2 separate regions of the Homo sapiens genome follow, and region 1 is linked to region 2. Evidence: promoter capture Hi-C in human tissues and cell types (Jung and others, 2019). All regions are on one chromosome and are shown on one strand. The core of a region is centred on a gene start or on the middle of the fragment in contact, and the rest is flanking DNA. Distances in the headings are between cores, read along the strand shown. Region 1 overlaps ATXN7L2 (ataxin 7 like 2). Region 2 holds the start of UBL4B (ubiquitin like 4B).

What was found. The method cuts DNA at HindIII sites, captures the fragments that hold promoters and counts their contacts. A contact is called where the count stands out against the background at its distance.
Region 1: a contact is called between a fragment that was not itself captured here and the fragment with the promoter of UBL4B in region 2, in 1 of the 25 tissues and cell types used here (pancreas).

The regions. Positions count from the first base shown.
Region 1 is chr1:109,488,113-109,491,641 of GRCh38, reverse strand. It overlaps ATXN7L2 (ataxin 7 like 2), which reads right to left. Exons shown (of 11, transcript NM_001350175.2): 6 at 3,177-3,259; 7 at 2,542-2,795; 8 at 1,514-1,712; 9 at 1,250-1,371; 10 at 1-720. Among named protein-coding and RNA genes, the nearest start is that of CYB561D1, 4.2 kb to the left of the region's middle. RefSeq lists a silencer at 736-785. The HindIII fragment of the contact is 6,277 bases long and covers 1-3,529 here.
Region 2 is chr1:110,111,098-110,114,698 of GRCh38, reverse strand. It overlaps UBL4B (ubiquitin like 4B), which reads right to left and starts at 2,256. Exons shown (of 1, transcript NM_203412.2): 1 at 752-2,256. The coding sequence starts at 2,164. The coding sequence ends at 1,640. The HindIII fragment of the contact is 14,264 bases long and covers 1-3,601 here.

The DNA.
Region 1 (3,529 bases), core at 442-2,941, 620 kb after region 2:
GCAGGGGCACCAGCCTGACAGTGCTTGGCCTTCACTGGCCGGCAATAAGTGGCCAGGTTTTTCCGCTTCTTGGCCACCTCCTCCTCAGAGAGGCAGTTGGTTGGCAGGGCCTTGGCTGGGTGTCCAGCTGCTCCCCGGTTCTCCAGCTGAGAAGCCTTGACTGGTGTGGGGAGCTGATGAGGGGAGCCACGACAGTCCAGGGGCCCTGCCCGCTTCACTCTTGGCCCCATTGTCCCATTAAGCCCCATGCTCAGGGCTGTTTTAGTTTTGGCCGAGAGGCCCCTACAGCCAGAGGGTTTCCCTTTTCCAGTGGGCTCCAGGATGCAGGTCCGTTTAAGAGTGGTAGGGCCAGGGGATAACTTCCGCTTTCGAGAAGGGGCCTCCACCTCCACCCCGTCCTTGCCTTTGGATGACTTGCTGGCCTTGGAAGGCGGCAGCTTGCTGAAGGACGGGGATGGCGTGTTGGCAGGCAGTGGTGAGGTGATAGCCTGGCTCCCGCCCATGCACTCTGCCTGGCTACAGGCAGCCGCCACGCTGGGGGAGCCTGCAGGGTAGCTGGGGACAAGGTTGTCCTTGGTGGGGGGCATGGAGGCTGGGCAGGCAGGTCTCAGGGTTGGACCTGGAAGGCGGGGGCAGGTGCCTGTAGAGGATGGGCTCAGGGGAGCAGATAACGGGGAGTTGACAAGGTGAGCTGGAGGTTCAGCTGCCGGTGGGATCTTCCTGCAGCAAAAAGAAAGCCCCACTGTGACTGCCAAGAAACAAGACAGCTTCCCCCAACACAAGACACACTCCAGTCTCTCTGCCCCACCTAGAAATGGTCAGCAGAGCCCCAGAGTTGCTGCCATCTGCTGGGAGATGCTGGAACTGAGGGTTAGGAAGAAGACACAGGGGTGCCTGTGGAGAGGAATTAGCTAGTACCTACTAACTAGGAGGCAGCCCACTAGGAACTTCATTTTAAATCTTGGTTTGGGCATCCCCTATCCCTAGTTACCCAAAAGGTACTGGAAGTGATGGATGAAAGTCTAGATTCACCCCCAGACCACCCTTCCATGCCCTGCCTTAGCCAAACTCTAGGCTGCCAAGTTTTCCCACCTCCTTTTCATGCTACTCCCTATCTGGGGTCCTGCTGGCAAATAGCCAAGGCACACCTATGGGTATACAGGAAAGATCAGGGCTTCTGAAGCCCAAGTATGTCTGGAACCTAGGAATTTCCATTCTAGAACTTCCATTCTGGGTCCGAGAGACTTACTTCCACATGTGTGTGCTGAGGTGCCGTTCCAGCATGGAGCTGAGTGCTGAGCAGAACCGGTCCAGCCGGCGGCTAAACACATAGCATCCTGGGCTCACCAGCCGGCTCCCAAAGGTGCAGAACTAAAGGCAGAAGGAAGGTGCATGGTTGGCAGGGTCTGGGGTGCACAGACAGCATCTGCACACAGGATCTGGCCTCCTCCCCATGTTGTTGGCCAGGAGTGCTGGGCCACCCCCTCCATAGGCCCCTATTCCAGGTCCTTACCGCCTGTGGCCGTGGGGGCCGGGTTGCATAATGGCAGTCAGGGGGTGGGTGGAGGTCGTCAGATGTCCCCTCCTCCTCACTCTCTTCGCTGGAGGCCTGGGTCCCACCCCGGGGCATGGGGAAGGGGAACAGGCCTGGGTCCCCATCACCACCACAGGGGCCTTCATCATCCAATTCACTCTCGGAGGAGGCCCGGGACCTGGAAGGGCCAAAAGGGATGCCAGGGGAATGTGACTGTTGTGGGGTCAGAGTAGGGGCATCCTTGAACCTGCCGAGCTCAAAGAGCAGGGCACCAGGGCAGACACCCTGCAGGGCAATCAGAAGAGGACAGAGGGAAGGGAAGGACAGGAGGGAACGACACAGCTCACAGAGTAAGAGACAGAGAGACTGCTCCCAAGGGATTCTCTCCCCAGCCCCTTCACCTCCCAGCCCCTTCCTCCTCAGGGGATAATCTGCTGCAGATCCGCCTCCTCCAGAAAATCTTCACAGTTAAAACTGTACCCAGCTCTGGTCAGCCCAGTCAACTCGCTCAACCCCCTTCTTGCATCACATATTCCTGTGAGCCTGTCTGTGAGCTGAGCCTGTGTTTCGTGTCTGCCCCTTGTGTGACAGGCAGAGATGCATGTGTGTCTCCTTCAGCAAGTCAGGCTCTCCCTGGGGTCCGGCATAGCCTCTGCACGCGAAGGGGCCAGTGAGTGAATACACATAGGGCTGCCTTGCCCAGGAGTGTGACCCTTTCAGCTCCCCAGTGACAAGTTTCGGTCTGTTGGAGGCAGCTGGGAAAATGTTCATATCCTGAGTGTTGGATCTGGCACACTGCCGAGAGGCTGGGGTGCTGTGGTATGCCTGGTTGGAAACAGGGGAGTCTCCTGCTTCCACACCACTGTCAGGAGCCCCAGGAATACCCCCACACTCAGGGCTGAGGGAGTGCCTCTTCCAGGACACTCCCTGAGCCTGTTTCCAGGGGCCCCTGATGGCTTAGGGGCCAAGTACCCCCAGGTGAGGTAGGGGTTGGATTCTAGACGTACCTGGGCAGTGCACAGTATGGGTAGGTCTGCTTGGCACGAACAGAGAAGGTGCTGCTGGGAGCAGCCACCGCTGCTACAACCTGGACTGAGGAGGGGAGCTCCTGGGAGGGGCGCTCGAGAACTTGCTCCTTGCGCCCTGGGCTCTTCTCCTTGGGAGACTCCCCTTTGCGGGAGTTGGCCTTCAGCTCTGCCACCAGCACGTCAAAGTCCTTGGCCCGGCCCTGGACTTCCCGGCGCTGGTGTACTGAGTGGATCTAGAATACAGCAGAGTGGAGAGCTGGGGAGTAGGTATGAACTGAGAAGGGGTGAGGGACGGCAGGGTGCTTTGGCCCGGGCAAGTTGGGGGGCAGGGAGAGAGGTGGGCATATTTGCAGCTGTGTTCATGTGTCTTTGTTTCATTCCCCCATGGGGCCAAAACCCTCCTTTGGGATGGGGGAATCTGGAAACTCCCTCCTTCCCACTGTTCCCACCTTCTGCCCAGGAGGGGCATACCCATCTCCCCTTCCCTTGGGTGGGCCTAACTGCCCTCCCTTAAGCTGGACCTTCAGTAACATCGACATTCCTCTCTTTGCCCAGGGAAGGAGTGGGCAAGCCCTGTGCTGTCCTCCCTCACCGTGCAGTGGGAAGGGGGTTACCTTGCAGGTCAACAGGCGGGTACAGATCTTTTTGGTCTCTGGATTTATTACCCCACACTGCCTGTTGAGGTCGCACTCCTTCCCTGTGGGGAAAGCACTTCCAATGAACCTCAAGACCATTTCCAGGAGTTTACAGGAGGATTTGGCCGCTTCCTGCCAAGGGCCTGAGAACTGGTACTAAGGCAGAAGAGACTCCAGCCCTCAGCCTGGGGCTGTACCTTCCAGATAAACTTCTGGGCATCAACATCTCCTTGCTGGGTGTGAGAACCATCCCTATCCCAATTTCAGGTGCGCCTTTTGGGACTTCAAGCCCAAAGCAGGGCAACACACATCAAGAAACAAAAGCAGCCATG
Region 2 (3,601 bases), core at 1,007-3,506:
AGCCAGTGCGTGCTGGGTCCTTGGTACCCCAGGGAGAGGTCATTAGTCTCCTCAGAGCCCCTAGTTTGCTCTCTTGGCTGGGACAGTGGGTGGGGCACTGGGAAAGGAGCTGGGTCATAAGCTGAACGAGGTTGTCTTATTCTGCGAGGTGAGGGAATGACCACTGCTAAGCAGGCTCCCACAAACAGAATGCTTTCCACATCCATCCTTGTCACTGCCGCTGAGCCCACCACTAGAAGACATCCCTCCCAGTTGGACAGTCTTTGCCTCTAACCGTCACCAACACTCATGGGGTAAGTAGATGCTGTTATAAGGATGCCCATGCAACAGGTGGGAAACCTGAGCATCAGACAGGAAAAGCAGGTTACCCATGGCCACACAGCTGGACTCGGACTGGAAGAGAGGATGAGGGGCCCTGCAGGCCAAGGACAGGATGCTTCCTAGGGAAGGGGGCCCTGCTTGTTCAAGACATTCTCCTCCACCCCTTCCCTCCATCCCCATCACTCAGGACTGAAACTTTTGCAATAACAGCATTTCAGGGGCTTCAGCAGTGAATGGGGGACCACAGCTCCCCACTCCCTCCCACTCACACACAGAGTGTGGGGACTCCTCAGCCTCTGCAAGGGCCACTCTCTCACTCAAAGAACAGAGTAAAGGGCCTGGCTTTCCTCGTAGTCTGCAGGGGACTGGCCCCTCTATGCTGAACCCAGGGCCCCGTGAGGCCCCGTGCATTCAGTCACACACACTAGACTCTAGTTTCATGTCACCACTTTACTTTTCACATGTATAGCAGCTCTCTGCATCTAGGCTGCGTGCTCTGTGAGGGCAAGGATCCTCATTGACAGATACCATTTTTCCTTCCAGGGAGCCTTGGGCAGCGCTGGGCAGGTAATGTGAGCTGTGATACCTACTGACTGATCAGTCTGGGAGGGTGGGGCATGGCTCTGTTCACGCTGGCCACAGGGAGTGTATGACTTTGCTGAACTTTTTTTCTGCCTGAGGCTCAGTTTCCTGCTATTCTTGGTCTGTGTCTGTCTCCCTGAGGGCTCCAGGGCTGGCACCCGGTACGTGCCCTCCTCCCACTCTCACCTCTGCTGTGCCTGTCCCTTAAGCTGGAAGCACAAGCAGGAGAACAGCAGGGGCAGCCTCACCCAGAAGGCAAGGGGCAGCTACCTGACATTCCTCTCCTCTTGGCTGCTGGGGAGCCTAGGGGAGATGTCACGGTCTGAGGATGGAGGAAAATGAACTCACATTGTCTTTCTGTCCCGAAGGAGAAAGAGGGTCTGCCTAGAACCATGGAGACCCTGGGCCAGGGCTGCTTTCAGCCTGGGGAGCTGCTGGGTATGTGTGGGCAAAGCTGCCAGCACAGGAGGGGACTGTGGCCTTTGGGGCTGCCCTCCGGTGATCAGAACCCTTCTAGGGGAAGCATGGTGATGAGGGTTGGTTCACTCTGCATTTCAGAGGGAGGACCTCAGGCCCAAGAGGGGACAGGGATCCAAAAACCCTCCAGCTGCTTGGAAGGTTCAAAAAGGGGTGTGGACGCATCCACATCAGCAGGAAGTAGTAGGAAAAGTCACCAGGGAACACGTAAGGATGAGGCCGGGAGAATTTTAGCATGCAAATGGGTAGGATGGCCCGTTTACTGATCAGCTGCTGCCTCCTCCTTCTCCTCCATGTCACAGGAGCTCTGAGGCCGTGCCTTCGCCTCAAGCTCCCTCTCTCCAGCTGGCTCCACGTGAGGCTCCTCTGCCAGGAGGTACTGGGCCAGCTGCTCCAGGTGCTCCAGGCTTATCTTCTGCAGGCGCTCCTCGTGCTCCTGCCTTAGCAGCTGCAGCACGGCCTTGGCATCCTGTGGTTCAAAGTGTTTAGCTAGGACCAGTCCCAGCTGGTGCCACAGGGGCTGGGTCTGCGGCTGGTGGGCCTCCTTTAGCGCCATCTTCTCCAAGGGCTGCATGATGACATTGATAGAGGCATTGGGCCCAATGCAGTAGTCAGAGAGGTGCTTGTCATCCTCCAGGAGCTGGCCACGGAAAAGCAGGTGCTGCTGCTCCTCAGGCACCTTCAGCCGCCTGGACACCAGTCTCTTCAGCGTGGCTACACTCTCTTGCCCTGACACCTTCAGACTGCATCTCTGGCCCAGGAGCAGCTTGACTGTGAGGAACATCGGGCTGAGTGGAATCAGGAGGGATCCATGCTCTGGGAGCTGCCCTGAAGATTAGGGGGTCCTGCGGGAGATGTTGGCTTCTCCCTATCAACAAAGGGCTAGTAGTCCCAGGAGACCAGGGACCCAGCTTAGGCAGGCAGCCATTGGCTAGTGCACGGTGATGTCACAATGCTGCGGGGGGGCTCATTTCCAGAGTGGAACTTTTGGGACAGCAAAGGGGTATTTGGGCCCAGAGCATCCTTCCTCCACGAGAGGAGAAAAAGAGCACTAGGAAAGAAAATGTGGGACTGGGGGAAATGAGAGTGAGACTAGGGAAAGGGAGGGAGGGAAAGGACAGGGTGGTGGGAGGAGCATGTCTATTGATTTCTTCAACACATGTGTATTAGGTGCCACCTCTGTGCCAGCACCTGGACCTGGGGAGACAGTCATATTCAGATGGATGACTTCTGCCTTCATGACACTTTCACACTAGTGAGCTGGCTAGCATTTATCAAGCGTCCTCTTTCTGTCAAGCACTTTACACGCTCTTTTGGATTGGGCTTTCCAGCAGCAGACACTGAGACAGGGATTTGAGAACAAGTACTCAATTAGGAGGTGATCCCAGGAGGCACCAGGAGGGGAGTGAGGATGTGAGATGAGGACGGGAGGGAAATCAAAACGTGCATTCATGAGCAGGTTGCCATTGTGGGCAACTAGTATGTTATCCTGCTGGGGAGTTCTGGGAGGTTGCATGGAACACACCTGAGTTGCACCAGGTGTGGTTTTTTTGTTTTTTTTTTTGTTTTTTGAGACAGGGTCTCACTCTGTTGCCCAGGCTGGAGTGCAGTGGCATGATCTCGGCTCACTGCAACCTCCGTTTCCTGGGTTCAAGTAATTCTCCTGTGTCAGCCTCCCAAGTAACTGGGGCTACAGCTGCACGCCACCATGCCTGGCTAATTTTTGTATTTTTAGTAGAGATGGGTTTCTCCATGCTGCCCAGGCTGATCTCAAACTCCCAGACACAAGCAATCTGCCTGCTTTGGCCTCCCAAAGTGCTGAGGTTACAGGCGTGAGCCACCGCACCTGGCCGAACCTGCATCTTTATGCTCTGACTCCTGTCTTTGGCTAATAGAAGTGCTACCTCCTTGGCACTTCTGGTCCACAGGTGTTAAGCAGCATGCTCCTGTGACCACAGAAAAGTAGGAAGCCATCGGGCCCTCAGGAATGTGAGTGCTGAGGGGATGGGGCAGGACAGCCCACAGCATCTGCATCACAGGCCTGCCTAATTGAATCCTCTCAACCTATGAGGCAGGCACTGCCATGATCTCCATCTGCCAGAGGAGAAAGTGGAGGCTTGGCTGATCCTACAGCAAGCAGGCAGAATTGCTCTTGTCTTCACTGTTACCTCATGTTGCCTCCTAAACAAATCTCTGCTCAGTGCCTTTTGTGGCCCAGGCC